Regions from separate parts of the Homo sapiens genome. Here region 2 is linked to region 1. Evidence: promoter capture Hi-C in human tissues and cell types (Jung and others, 2019). All regions are on one chromosome and are shown on one strand. The core of a region is centred on a gene start or on the middle of the fragment in contact, and the rest is flanking DNA. Distances in the headings are between cores, read along the strand shown.

Region 1 (7,086 bases), core at 658-3,157:
GGGCAGATCACGAGGTCAGGAAGTTCAAGACCAGCCTGACCAGCATGGAGAAACCCCCTCCCTACTAAAAATACAGAAATTAGCCGGGTGTGGTGGTCGGTCCCTGTAATCCCAGCTACTCGGGAGGCTGAGGCAGGAGAATCACTTGAAACCAGAAGGCAGAACCAAGATTGCGCCACTGCACTCCAGCCTGGGCCAAACAGTGAAACTCCGTCGGGGGGTGGCGGGGAATGCAATTTCTTGACCCAACACACCCACCAAGTTTCTACGTCGGTGGGGTCTAGGCTTGGCGTGTTTTTTTTTTGTTTTTGTTTTTTTTTTGAGACACAGTCCAAAGAGTCCAGGTGCACGATCTGGGCTCACTACAACCTCCACCTTCCGGGTTCAAGTAATTCTTGCGCCTCAGCCTCCAGTTTAGCCGGGATTACAGGCGCGTACCACTACGCCCGGCCAATCTTTTGTATTTTTAGTAGAGACGGAGTTTCGCCATGTTGCCCAGGCTAGTCTCGAACTCCTGACCTCAGGCAATCCGCCCGCCTCAGCCTCCCAAAGTGCTAGGATTACAGGCGTGAGCCACCGCGCCGGGCCAAGGCTTGGCATTTTCATGAACACTCAGGTGTCTCTGTGGAACAATCCTTTTGAGAGAACAGGAAGGTTGGAGACTTGATCTTGAGGAAAGCGGGGGCCAAGGTTACGGGAACGGTGATGAATTGGCGGCCCCTAGACCAGATGCTGCCTGGCTCCTCCTAGCAGCCACTGCTTTTCATCCAGGTAAGCCTGACCACCTGAAGCCGAGCAACCAAACCTCAGTGTGCCCTCCTGGACTGCATGCCACAGGCCGATTCCTGAGTCCCTCAGTCCCTGAGGTGGAGCCCAGGAATCTGCCTGTGACATGCAGTCAGAAAAGCATACTGTGTGCAAAGACAGGAATTAATCTGCATCTTAAACACCAGCCGGGTGGCCGGCCCAACAGAGGTGGGGACCTGGCTCTCCCTATCTGAGATCCTGGACAGGCTCCCCGCCTGGGTCCTTCGCTTTCCTGTCTTCCCCACCGGCTAGGACAGCACCTGCCCAGGTCACAGATTAAACTAGCATTTGAGGAGATGGGTAAACGGACCGGGGTGAGTGGAAACTTGCAAGCGAGACAGCAGGGAGTGTCGTTAGCGATGTAACAGGCCGACCTCTGTTTGGTCCGGGAACGTAACCGCTCAAAATGGCTCTCGCAGACCGGCCAGGACAGGTCTGCGGCCCCGCGCGAGGAGGCACGGTGGGCCTACCGTTCAGGACCGAGGACCCGCACCCCAGGACCCCACCTAGCGAGCTGCAGCCTGGCTGCCTCGGGTTGGGGTGAGCGGCGGGAGCGGGCTGGGGGCGTTTCTACGAGGAGGGGAAGCGCACCTCGTCCAGGGACTGAGTGGCTTGGTGGGTCTGGGGTCCTTCCCTGAAGGGGCAGTGGAGGGAGAGGGGCGATGTGAGGCCGGGCACGCTGCCTGCGGGAAAGAGGACCCAGTGCCGGCGCTCTGGCCTTGTCAGCGGTCCGCCGGGGAGGCGGAGGTGGGGGCGCGAGTGGGGGCGGACCGGGTGGAGGGAACTGCGCGCGCGGCCGTCCACCGAGGGGCCGGGGCGGGGGTCCCGGGCGGGGCCGCTGCAGCGGGAGCAGCGCCCGGGGCTGGGCCTGGCCCGAGGCCCGGCGGGGAACACGTGCGGCGGCCGGGTGCGGTTTGGAAGCTTCTGGCGCCGCCCCGCTGCCCGCCTTGTGTTCCCCGGGCCGGGCGGCTGCCCGCTTACCTGCCGGGCCGCGGCGGCGGGGCCGGGCGCTCGGGGCGTCGCGTCGGCCGCCGCCTGGGCGGGAGCGCGGACTCAGCTCGACAAGGCGGCAGCTCGGGCGGGCGCCAGGCGGCGGGGGCGCAGTGCGCGTGCGCGAGGGGAGGGGGCGGTGTCCGGGGGGCGGGGCGAGCTCACAAAGCCGGCCTCTCGGAGGAGCGCTACGGGCAGCGACAGCGGCCAGAATGCCTCGGGCCGGCCCAACGCTTTAAAGGGACAGCACGGGGCGCGCGCTTCCCGCTTAAAAGCTTTAATCCCCGAATTTGACTGGTGCAGGCCCTTCTAATGCACTTCCTAAAAACTGAAGTATAATAATACATACAGGAAAGTGCTAGTGTGCCCTCGCGTTTCCACAGACAGCACGCCCTGTACACAGACACCAGCGGCCCTCCGGGACCTGCGCAGGTGGCGTCGCCCGGCGTTGTCTCCGGAGTCGATTCGGGCCGGGGCACCTCCCCGGGCGACCAGGCCCCTTCTTGATCATCGCTGGTACGGATGAGAGCGGCAGTGGGCATTTGGAAAGCACCTGGGGCCGCGCCCGGGCGCAGTGCCCCCATGTGGCCTCCCACCCCGGGCGGGCAGGACGATTCCTGCCCATCTGGAAGACCAGGAACCTGCGCGTTCACAGGGTTCGGAAGCCCGGGCTGCGCCTTCCCGCGGGGCCGGCTGCCGGGCTGGGGGCTCTTCCCGCCTCTGCATGCACAGAGCCCGCGGTGCACGAACCTGCTCCCCGCCAGCCCCGCGGACTGGCAGGGCCGCTCTGGAGTCACCCGCGCCCGCTCCGCAGTGCGCAAACTCACTTCGCAGCGGGCTCTCCCGGGGCCAGCCCTTCCCTCCTGGGCGGGCATTTTCACCTCCAGGTACAAGGGGGTGGTCCCCAGAGGAGGACTCAGGGGCTTAAGGAGAAGCTGAGGCCCGGTCCTCTGGCCTCAACGACTGCACATTCTCGCCGCCTGCTTCACTTCTTAGAGCCTTGGAGGTAGGCATGGCCTCCCTATCCCCTCAGCTAGGCCTGTGGGTAGAATAACATACAGTCCCTTATTCTCCAATTAAAAATGGGAACACAGAATATGACACAGGAACCCATGCAAACAAAGGGATAGAGCATTTGAAATAAAAATGCCAAGGAGGGTGAGGTGAGCGGTTGTCAGAGAGGTGGAACCGGAAGACTGGCAGTTGGTCTGGAGTCCCCTTCCCAGGAAGGACACAGAGAAGGCAAGGTCCCTGTCTGGTCCTTCAGGGCTCCATATGGATTTGTGTGCCCAAGAGGCCGGATCCCTTGGGCCAGGTGCCCTGGAGCATGGAGTGGTGACAGTCACAGGTTAGCAAACCCAGTTCGGATGAAGAAGCGCATCTTTATCTCCGTCCACCTGGCCGCCTGGGCCGGAATCCCGAGCCCGTGACACGCTGCTCTCCTTCCACCCCACCTCAGCTCTCAGATCGTCCACTTCTCTCCCTCCCCACCCCAGCCCTACCTCCCACCTGGGTCTTTTCTAAACCTCCAAACAGAGAAACTCCTAAAAATCCAGCTCTGATCTGTCACTCCCCAGTTTAAAACTCAGAACCAGCTTCCCACTGCCCTCAATTCCCTAATTCCCACTGCTCAATTCGGCTAAAGTGCTTACCAGACCCCGCCTCCTCTTCCAACCTAGCACCGGCTCCCAAACTGCAGTCCTGGTTCCAGCCCCAAAACAAAAATATTTCCAGCCCTTCAGCCCTCCAGGCAAAGCAAGATAAGGGGCGAGACCCCAGAACCCTCAGAACTCAAACCAAGTTCCCAGCTTCCACTTCCAGGTGAATTGGTCTCACCACCTCACCCCACCCCCAGGAGATAGAACCTTCTAGTAAAAATGAGAAAATCCGGCCGGGCGCGGCGGCTCACGCCTGTAATCCCAGCACTTTGGGAGGCTGAGGCGAGTGGATCACCTGAGGTCGGGATCACCTGAGGCTGAGGCTGAGGCAAGGAGAATCGCTGGAACCCAGGAAAGAGGTTGCAGTGAGCCGAGATCGCACCATTGCACTCCAGCCTGGGCAACAAGAGCAAAACTCCGTCTCAAAAAAATAAAAAAGATGTTCAGAGAAACAGTTCCATTTACTAAGTCACTGCTGGTGGCCAAAGCCTAGTTAATGTTCTGAAAATCTCCATCGTGTTTGTTCCTCTTCTGTGATTCTTATTTTCTCTTCTATTTTCACCTGCCATATTTTTTCCTGAGGCTGACAACTGTTTGGTAGGATATAAGAGGATTTAAAACTTAGTAAAGCAAATTACTTGCCTTTGTTAAATTCTCTTCCTTGCTGGCGTTATATGGTTTCAGAATTTTAGCTATGACTGCAGGCAGGGGTGGATTGCAAAAATTGCTGAATGGGGTTAGAGGATTTTCTCTTTTTTTTTTTTTTTTTTTTTTTTGAGACGGAGTTTGCTCTTGTTGCCCAGGCTGGAGTGCAATGGGGTGATCACCACAACCTTGGCCTCCCGAGTTCAAGCAAGTCTCCTGCCTCAGCCTCCCGAGTAGCTGGGATTACAGGCATGCGCCACCACGCCCAGCTAATTTTGTATTTTCAGTAGAGATGGGGTTTCACCATGTTGGTCAGGCTGGTCTCAAACTCCTAACCTCAGGTGATCCACCCGCCTTGGCCTCCAAAGTGCTGGGATTACAGGCGTGAGCCATCACGCCCAGCCTTCTCTAAACAATTTTTATAAATACAACATTTTGGCCAGGCACAGTGGCTCACGCCTGTAATCCCAGCACTTTGAGAAGCCAAGGTGGGCAGATCACAAGAACAAGAGATCAAAACCATCCTGGTCAACATAGCGAAACCCCATCTCTACTGAAAATACCAATTAGCCAGGCATGGTGATGGGTGCCTGTAGTCCCAGCTACTCGGGAGGCTGAGGCAGGAGAATCACTTGAACCCAGGAGGTGGAGGTTGCAGTGAGCTGAGATTGCACCACTGCACTCCAGCCTGGCAACAGAGCGAGACTCTGTCTCATAAATAAATAAATAAACAAACAAACAAACATTTCTAGAAGGTTTCTCCCCACCTGCACTCAAGGATCTCTGATCAGCCCAACAGTCCAGGCCTGCTGGCCACCCTCCCCGCTGGCCCAGGTCCCTCCACCAGTCTCTCCTCCCCAGGGCACCCCCAACCAGCCAGTGTCCACTTGGGCCTCCCTAAACGTGGCAAGTCTTCCGGCCCCCAGCTCCTCCACAGTGAAAACATCTTCCATTGTAATTCCTGGGTCAGTGTCCCCTGGGTCTGGCTGAGTTGAGTCTGACCCTCATCACAGCACTCTGGGCACTTGGCCCAGGAGGTTGGGGGTGACATGTAGCACTGAGGAGCACTTGTGCACCCAACACTGTATTCAGTTTGTCACATTTAGTACCTCCTTGCACCCTCCCAACAAGCCTGTGACGTGATGCCTTTATTATCTCCTTTTTACAATGAGGAAACCAAGGCTCAGAGAGGTTGAGAAGCTGCCCAAGGACCCACAGCTAGTGGGCATAACCAGGGAAGTGAGCCCTGACTCTAGGCAGGACAGCGCTTCCAGGGGTGGCCTCTTCAGAGACGGCACCTCTGGGATCAGGAGCAGGCAGCACGGCTCTGAGGTTGCAGCAGGGCTGAATGCAGAACACCAGCCTGTTTTAGGAACCGTGTCGTCACCTAGTAACTAGTATTTCCTCGGGGACAGTGGACTGCCGAACCCTGAGAGGGAGGGCCACTGGCAGCGATGGACGAATGGCCCGTGGCAGGAGTGCTGGTGTCCTCGAAGCAGGCAGCCCGGAAGCACTGGCCCCTTCATGGCCAGCCCAGAGCTTTGGGGGGCAGCGGATTCCGATGGCAGTTGATTCGGGAAGGTGGAGGAAGCCGAGGGACGGGGCAATGCCCAGGACCCAGGGTTTCCCGGAGCTGCTGACCAGATTTCCAGGCTTGTGGGCCACCTCAACCTGGCCACTGTGCAGGGAGCTGTTGCTGCTGCCTGGAGATCCTATGGCTCCCTGCCAGCCCAGGTCAGTGGGATTTTATGTTAAATTCCTTTTCCCCTGGTAACTATGCCAGGACAGCCAGTTGGGGGATTCATGTCACCATCCCCCATCCCCAGGATCTCCACAGGGGCCCATCAGGGCCCTGTGGGCCTTCACCTGACAGCTTTATGCTGATTGGCCACGCTCAACCCAGGTATCCAGAAAGCCACTTCCAGTCCTCACTATACCACTGTCCTTCTCTTCTTCCCCCGGCCTTAGCTCCCTGGTACAGAAAGAGCAGGGTAGACAGAGGAGCCCATCTTGTTGACACGGACTGTGTGGTTTCTTCCTTGTGTCAAATTCTCTCCTTCCACTCCGTTCTCCTTCCCACCAGCCTCGTTCTCCATTCATCACGTCCGCTCCCCTGGCCATCCTCTAAGGTGGCCCCTCTAGATTGCCCCTGTCTGCAGTGACAACACTCCACTTTGACTGGCACAGCCCCAGTTCCAGAACCGGAGTCCCTGCCCCTGGCAGCCCCTCAATCCCAAAGAAATCCGGATGGTTGATCGCCTGGGTTGTCCCTTCCTTAAGGCCCCTCCATCCTTGCCAGCATCCTGACCCTCACCAGGGGCCGCTCCCTTGTCCACCTCCCTCGCTACTGTGGGCTCATGAGAGAGGGACACCCTGTCCACCTCGGTGCCTGCCAGGAGGGACACACAGCAGGTGCTCAATAAAGACCCTCACAATGAATGAATGGTGGCATGTTCTCTTCCACTTCCTGTTGGGATTTAAACCTGTTAAACTTGCTTAAAAGTCCCTATGACTGTCTGCCTGCCCCACCTTCCACTCCACTCCAGGCCAGGGTGTCCCCGGGGACGGCCCCCCTCTTCCCCCAGGTGGTGCTGGGAGCTCAGCTGCGCGTGCCCAGAAGCCATGCAGGCACCAGTTTGGGTCAGGCCAAGCTGGGCGGATCTCCCAGCCAGAATTCCAGGAATGCGACCCTTGTTTCCAAAGCCAGGCTGCACCTGGCGCAGTCTGCAAATCCCCTCCCCACCTCGGGTTCTCGGTGGTGCTGGTGGCGGCAGCATAATCCCACTGGTTACAGAGGGTCCCGGCAAAGACCACTGTGAAAGATACAGCTCCTGGGACAGACCAGGTGGAAATCAGAGGCCCAAAGAGCCAAGGCGATTTTTCAAAGGCTTTAGTTTGTTTTGTTTAGTTTTGTTTGACAGGGCCGGGTGGGAGGAGTGTGGCTAGTGCAGTGGTGGTTTGTAGGAGTCATTTTTTAAGGGCTCTA
Region 2 (7,238 bases), core at 451-2,950, 350 kb after region 1:
GACTGTATTCATTGCCCAGCCCCCCTTCTCCCCCAAGCCTAGACAGAAGACCCCTTCAAGTCCAAGAGGAGAACTGTGTCTCCCAGGGGCAGGAGACGCCCCCTGGTTCGTGGACCCCTGGCCCACCCTCACCTTGACTCTCCCCTCCAGGGGCAATGGACAGGGTTTGGGCCCAGGCTCGGTGGGGCCGGCAGTCGCCTCTGCTCCTCGGACCCCATCAGGCAGGGCTGCCACCTCCTGGGGCTCCCCAGAGTCTGGCCCTGCAGAGGCCAGGCTTGGGCTACCGAGTCAGTCACCTCGTCCTGCCTGGGGAGAGGGGATGCGCCACCCCAGGAAGCAAACTCCCTGGTCTGTGCTGACCGGAGCCGACTTCCCGAGGATCTGCTGGTTCTAACCTGGGCTTCTCCACCTCAGCACTGCTGACGTCTGGGGCTGGATCATTCTTGGTTGTGGGACCTGCCCCTGTGCGTTACAGGATGTGGAGCAGTGTACCTGCCTGCCACCCACCAGACACCAGTAGCACCCCCACCCCCTCAAGTAATGCCAACCAGATATGCCTCTGGACATTACCAGAGGGTCCTTTGGGTGGCAAAATTACCCCTGGTGGTGAATCACAAACATTTTCACCCTGGTGATTTCACTGACATGAAGCTGGCAGGGGAAGGTCCCCGATGGCCAGGCCACACCCACCCGGTGCCAGCAGCACAAAGAGAATGCCCTCCGCGAACGTGGGGCACGGAAAAGCACCTGCGATACGTCGGCGATGAAAGAAAAAAAAAATAAGCTTCTGAAGGGCATTATGATACTGCCCCCTTCATCTTTCATTTTAGAAAGAAATTAAAATGTGTGGGTGCAGAGGAGGCCAAGGACGGCCGCACCCTGCACCATCAGCACCTGGCGGGTCCGTGCTGCCGTGAGCTCCTGCGCGAGGCGGTCACAAATGCGTACAGTGAGCAGGACGTGAGGAGAAAAGTTCGTTTTGTTTTGTTTTTTAAGTTTTTACATAGAAGTAATACTTGTTCATTAAACAGCAAGAACAGGCTGGGCGCGGTGGTCATGCCTGTAATCCCAGCACTCTGGGAGGCTGAGGTGGAAGGATCACTTGAGGTCAGGAGTTCGAGACCAACCTGGCAAATGTGGTAAAACCCTGTCTCTACTAAAAATACAAAAATTAGCCAGGCGTGCTGGCGGGTGCCTATAATCGCAGCTACTTGGGAGGCTGAGGCAGGAGAATCTCTTGAACCCGGGAGGCAGAGGTTGCAGTGAGCCACGATTGCGCCACTGCACTCCAGCCTGGGTGACGTAGTGAGACTATCTCAAAAACGACAACAACAAGAATAAAACAGCATGGCCAGCAGGCGTCGAGCATCCCCATGAGCCAGGCCCTGTACCCAGTCCTGGCTCTGAATCCCATTGCCACAGGGAAGGTGGTGAGAGCTGAGATCAGAGGCCTGGAGCAAGTTGACTGGGACTATGTGACACCAAAGCTGTCCTTGCAGCCTCTGGGGCTGAGACCTTGGAAGGAGACACTGAGCCTGTGCCTCGAGCACCTCCCAGGCAGGGCCCTGTTCGTGTCTTGAAGCATTTTCCTCCACCTTTTCCTGTCTGTGTGGACACTTTGAAAGCCACGCAGGGAACATGTCAAGAGAAGCTCTCTCTGAATCAGAAGAGTCACAGAGACAAAACCAGACAGACAACGAAAATGAACCTCAGCGAACCACACAGGGGTCTGAGTCGAAGCCTCACCCTTGGCAGGACCCCGGCCCCACCCGCCCTGCAGCAGATAGGCGCTGTTTGTTCTCTCCTGAACGTGGGGCTTGGGCTTCTGGCTTTTCCGACCGGGTCCCGCTTGGGGCTCCACACAGCGGCGGCCTCTGTGAACACAACCGGCACCGTCAATCGCCCTTTGTCCCCAGAGCTGAAGGGAGCCCCTTGGCAGGGCTGGCCAGGAAAGGGAGAGAAGCTGCCAGGCCCAGTCCCTTCCCGGTCTTCTGCACCCTCCCTCGTCCATCCTGAGCACCAGCTGGGAGCCACAGGGGCTGTTTCCCTTCGTCCCGCCTCTGCTGCCTGTGGGGAGTTCCCTTGGGTGCACGACAGTCTGCCCTGCCCGTGCGGTCAGGAGAACTGGGGCTGCTCCAGCCCCGGCTGACGGCCCCTCTCCTTCTTCCCAGCAAGTGAAACTGGAGGAATTTGGAAGACCAAAGATTGACGGGGAACTGAAAGTCCGGTCCATAGTCAACCACACCAAGCAGGACAGGTGAGCAGGGCGCGTGTTGTGGGCTGGGTGGCGTCCCGCCAGGGTCTGGCTCTCCCTCCCAGGGAGCCACTCCTAAGTGGCTCTGGAAGCCAGGCCTTCCTGTGGAAAGAGCTGCCTGGCGGTGGCTTTGTGTTGTTCAGTTTTAATTGCTTCCTTCCTTCTCGTCAGCGAGCGGGCGCCACAGCAGTGGGGCTTTTGTGCCTGTGGCGGGCACCAGGCTGGGCTGGGGCAGCCAAAGATGAGGGCCAGGCCCCTCACTGCCAATGCTCAGCCTCCAGGAACCCAAGACAGGCCCAGAGTGGTCGGATGGGCTCTTTGCCAAATGACTGCCGGAGAGTGTCCAGGCGCACGGTGGCCCAGGCTTGTCCAGGGCCCTCCTTGTGCACCTACTGTGTGCTGGGGCAGGGGTCACAGCAGATCTGGGTCCCACCCTCTTGAGGCTCCCAGTCCAGCGCGGGATCAACTGGGAGTAGCCGTCGGGGGTCAGTGCTGCATGGGAGGCCAGCGTGGGGGATGCAGGAGCCCCTTGAAGGGCTCCTGGCACAGCCTCAGTCACGGGGGTAGGGAGCCAAGGAAGGCTTCCTGGAGAAGCAGTGTGGGAACAGCCGAGACCTGACCGAGGCTCAGCATTAGCCTGGTGAGCCAGGTGAGGGCAGGGCTCGCCCGGAGAGGGAGCCGCGTGCCAGAGCCTCAGGCTCAGCTCCTGCCGCCTCCTCGGAGCAGAGCACACAGTGCTGGGGTGCTGATCCCCCGCTGCGCTGCCTGGCCCAGGTACTTGTTCCTGTTTGACAAGGTGGTCATCGTCTGCAAGCGGAAGGGCTACAGCTACGAGCTCAAGGAGATCATCGAGCTGCTGTTCCACAAGATGACCGACGACCCCATGAACAACAAGGACGTCAAGAAGGTGGGGCCTTCCGGGTCCCCCCTGCTACCCAGGAACGTGGGGGTGGCCTGGAGAGAGGCACTGGGTTCCAGACCCCAGGGGAAGGGGACTCGAAGTCAGCCGCTGATGCTGGCCGGGTGGGTTGGGGTGGGCGTCTCCGCTCTGCAGGAAGGCTCCTCTCTGAGTCACTGCCTCGCCGTCGTGACCACTGCTCATAGCAGGCCTGCTCCTCGCCGGGCCCAGCGCCCCCCAGAAAGGTGGGCAAGACCAGAATCCCACTCCCCAGTGAGGCGACTGAGGCAGAGGGGAGAGGCCACCCCAAGGCCTCTAGTGAGGGTGGGACTTTCAACCTTGGCTTTCCATCTGGCCAGCCTGACTCTAGCCCATGTTGTCCCTTGTAGCAAGCAGGCTTTCCTCTCCCGTCCCACCCTGCGGTGCTTGGAGGAGGGCTGTGGGTAGGTCTGGCTGTGGCTTGTCCGAGACTCTACATGTAGCTGGCTGGGGCCTGTGGCTGCTGGGGTGGGGCCAGGGCTGCAGGGGTGGGGCCTGTGGCTGCTGGGGCGGGGCCAGGACTGCAGAGGTGGGCCTGTGGCTGCCAGCGGGTGGGGCCAGGGCTACAGGGACGGGGCCGAAGCTGCTGTGGGGCAGGACCATGGCTATAGGGCTATTGCTGGCTGGCTGTCTGGTTCAGTCCTGCTTCAGCTGAGGCTTCTGCCCATGGCACTTGAGCAGCTACCGTGTGCAGCCCTGGTGGGGTGGGGGGCGGGGGTCAGGAGCCCTTGTTCTGAAAGTCCAGTCCCTGGCCTCCAGGGCTGGCAGTGTAGCCCTCGTCCAGACCCAGCAAGTGCAGACTGGATGAGCTGTTGAGGGTGACCCTCCCTGCCCTCATGCCCAAAACAAGTAACTGGGGCCCATGAGGCAGTCCTGCCACCAGCACCCAACACTCTGGGAAGAAATTCCTTTCCCCACTGATCACCCCACCCCCAGCCTGGGCACTGGGGGGTGTTCCACCTGCCAGGGCTCCTGGCGCCTCCACACTGCGGCACCCACCACAGGGCCGGGCTTAGCCTCTCACTGACCGTCTTCCCCTTCCTCTCCTCTCCATGCTTCCTAGTCTCACGGGAAAATGGTAAGCACCTAGCGCCCAGGTCCTCCCACCTGCCTCAATCATCCCAGCCTGGTGCTGGCACTTCTGCCCGGAGCCAGGGGACCCAGGGGCCTGAGGGGCTGGGCTCAGGGTTTTCTTGGTCCTTCGTCCTCCACTCCCTTTCCCGATGATGAAATGATTTGTATTCATGATGAAAGGCTTGCCCGCTAAGACAGTGTGAAAGGAAAACTCCGTGATCCTCAGTCCCTGGAGCTCGGGGTCAGAGGCTGGGGTTTCTTGGTCTCTCTTCAGCTCTCCATCATCCTTTTTGTTTTTCTGTGTTCTCTCCCTCCTCCCTCCCTCTTTCTCCCCTTTTCCTCTCTCTTTCCTTGTTTCTTTCCTCCTCCCATCCCCGCTCCACGCTTCCCCTCTCCATCCCTCCCTTCGTTCCTCTTTCCCGCCATCTTTTCTAACCCAGTAGGCTCCTATTTGCCAAACTCTTTTTTCTGGACCACTTTGAAAGCCCTTTGTCCGAGAGCTCGGAGAGATGGCGAGGCCTGTGGGGTGGCCGAAGGGGAGGCAGGGAAGGGGGCAGTTGTGGGTTGCTCAGTCGGGGATGGCTTCACGGGGGGTGCCCCAGGCCCATGGCTGTTCCCTGCCTTTTTGTTGTTACTGTTCTACTTCAGAGAAGTGAGGTTTTTTTAGCATCACATTTAGGAAGTGAAAGTGGGTGGTCAGGCCTCGTGGAGGGGCCCTGGGTGGGGCCCTGCGCTCATCCTTCCTGGGATCCTGCCCCCGCTTAACATGCATCTACATATGCACTCGGTGGAGCATCCTCGCACATGGGCGCAGGCAGGAGTGCAGACCTGCCCAGGCATGTGTGTGTGCACCCACAGGAGAGCACCCACAGGAGAGCACACACAGGAGAGCACCCACAGGAGAGCTCACACAGCATGGGTGCATGTGCATCATACGTGTTAGTACATGTGTGTACCTGCAGGGACAGATACAAGTGTGTGTGTGCACATGCTCACAGGAGCACTGGGCACACTCATGCACAGGTGCACACGCATAGACACGCGTGCAGGCACAGATGCACACCCATGCACGCAGGAGCACACTAGTATGCATGCAGAGGTGAAGGCACAAGCGCATATGTATTCTCACGTGAGGGTATGGGCACACAGCTATACATGCATGCATACAGAGGCACGTGTGCACGTACAGCATGGGCAAGAGAGCAGGTACACACGTGAGAACATGTGTTCACACAGGCACAGGCACCTGTGCACATATGCATATACACACGTGCACATGCTGCACAGGCGAGAGTACACGTGGACATGTGCCAGGATGTCTGAAGCCGTGTCTATTGCAAGCATGGCCCCTCTCCCCCCTGCAGTGGTCCTACGGCTTCTACCTAATTCACCTTCAAGGAAAGCAGGGCTTCCAGTTTTTCTGCAAAACAGAAGATATGAAGAGGAAGTGGATGGAGCAGTTTGAGATGGCCATGTGAGTTCCAGGGCGGCAGCCCCCAGGTCCCTGGCAGATGAGTTGTATGGGGGGTGGAAGCCCAGGTGGATTGTGTCTGTGGTTCCTCTCAGACCAGGGGCGGTGGGAGGCAAAGTTGGAACGTCAGGGACACAGACAACCTCCATCACCCCTGGGACGCCAGCCTCAAGCAGTGACATCCTCTTTAACAATCAGTCCAGAGTGAGAGGGCTCTCCCTCTGCCACAGCCTGTCCCAGGCAGGCTCCGCTGTCCTGCTGGAATGAGCCATCCCACCCTTGAGGCTGAGCCTGGCACGCCCGGCCCACAGAGCAGTGACCGGCTGGGAGTGGCCATGATGCCAGAGGATTCCTGGTGACCCCAGTCTTCAGGGTCTTACGGGCTGGCGGCTTGTCACCTGTTTTTGAAGCCACAGAACTATTTTTCCATGAGATCCAAGAGGACTCATATCCTAGATATGTGAAACAGAGAAAGATGATGAACGGGTTCCCGGAACACGGACCCTGGAGGGCCAGCAGGGTTGTCTGTGCTTGAGCTCTGCGGGCAGGTGAGCTGGGGCCTGCAGGCAGGTGCACTCGCCTCTCTGACCGTTTCTTCTGGTGAAATGGAGAGGGGAAGGCCTGTGTTCTGGCCTTTTTGGGAGGATCGAAAGGGAACCATTGGACACAGCAGGGCCAGGGCCTGGCTCGTGAGAATAGATGCAGCCAGCTGGTTTGCACCCAGGCTCTGTGGGGGAGGCCTGGGGCATCTTCTCTTCGGCCACTCGCTTTCCATGGCCTGTAATTTTCTCCCCAACATCCTATTGTGCAAAAGTTCAAGCGTTCATGGAAGCTGAAGCGACGTGATGGTGAATAGCCGTCTTCTCACCACGCTGCCGCCATCCGCGTCACCCCACCCCACCCCAGCCATCCAACAGCGGGTCTGTGTCAAAGTGAATTGCACACCAGTGCAGCCCCCCTGAGTACCTCAGGGGGCCCAATATTTGTTTAGCTTCTGAAATTTCAAGCTTATATCCAATGAGGCAAACAAATCTTAAGTATATGTTTTCTGAGTTTTAACAAATACCCACACCTGCCCACATCCAAGCCCAGTCAGGACCTTAGACCACCGTCCCCACCTGGAAGGTTCTCTCAGGCCAGTGCAGCAGTGTTAAAGCTTCTTCTCTGACCTGCCTTCTACGAGCAGGGAGTCTGGGCCCTGAGTCTGCCCCATGTTGCGGGCAGAGCCAGGCTTGGAGTCCAGGCCCTCTCGGATTCTGCACAGCCTGGGTCCGGAGCCCAGCTGGTTCCCAGGATGGCCACATGGTGGGGCTCGGGGAATCCAGTGGGTGTAGCATCTGCTCTCTTTCCCTCCTGCCAGGTCAAACATCAAGCCAGACAAAGCCAATGCCAACCACCACAGTTTCCAGATGTACACGTTTGACAAGACCACCAACTGCAAAGCCTGCAAAATGTTCCTCAGGTGTGGGAAACCCCCTGCTACAGCCCTCACCTCGCTCCAC

Evidence for each region. Contacts are between HindIII fragments. The study calls those that stand out against the background at their distance.
Region 2: a contact is called between a fragment that was not itself captured here and the fragment with the promoter of WDR5 in region 1, in 3 of the 25 tissues and cell types used here (lymphoblastoid cells, spleen and thymus).

Annotation. Positions count from the first base shown.
Region 1 is chr9:134,130,903-134,137,988 of GRCh38, reverse strand. WDR5 (WD repeat domain 5) reads right to left here and starts at 1,907. Exons shown (of 14, transcript NM_017588.3): 1 at 1,789-1,907. WDR5-DT (WDR5 divergent transcript) reads left to right here and starts at 2,007. Exons shown (of 2, transcript NR_186420.1): 1 at 2,007-2,803; 2 at 5,516-6,539. RefSeq lists enhancers at 926-1,850, 2,757-2,866, 5,107-5,676 and silencers at 1,777-1,956, 2,397-2,566. The HindIII fragment of the contact is 22,361 bases long and covers 1,901-7,086 here.
Region 2 is chr9:133,784,277-133,791,514 of GRCh38, reverse strand. It overlaps VAV2 (vav guanine nucleotide exchange factor 2), which reads left to right. Exons shown (of 30, transcript NM_001134398.2): 14 at 2,172-2,257; 15 at 3,029-3,161; 16 at 4,255-4,269; 17 at 5,630-5,739; 18 at 7,097-7,198. Among named protein-coding and RNA genes, the nearest start is that of SARDH, 50 kb to the right of the region's middle. RefSeq lists a silencer at 3,567-3,726 and enhancers at 4,013-4,565, 4,837-5,246. The HindIII fragment of the contact is 4,129 bases long and covers 1-3,764 here.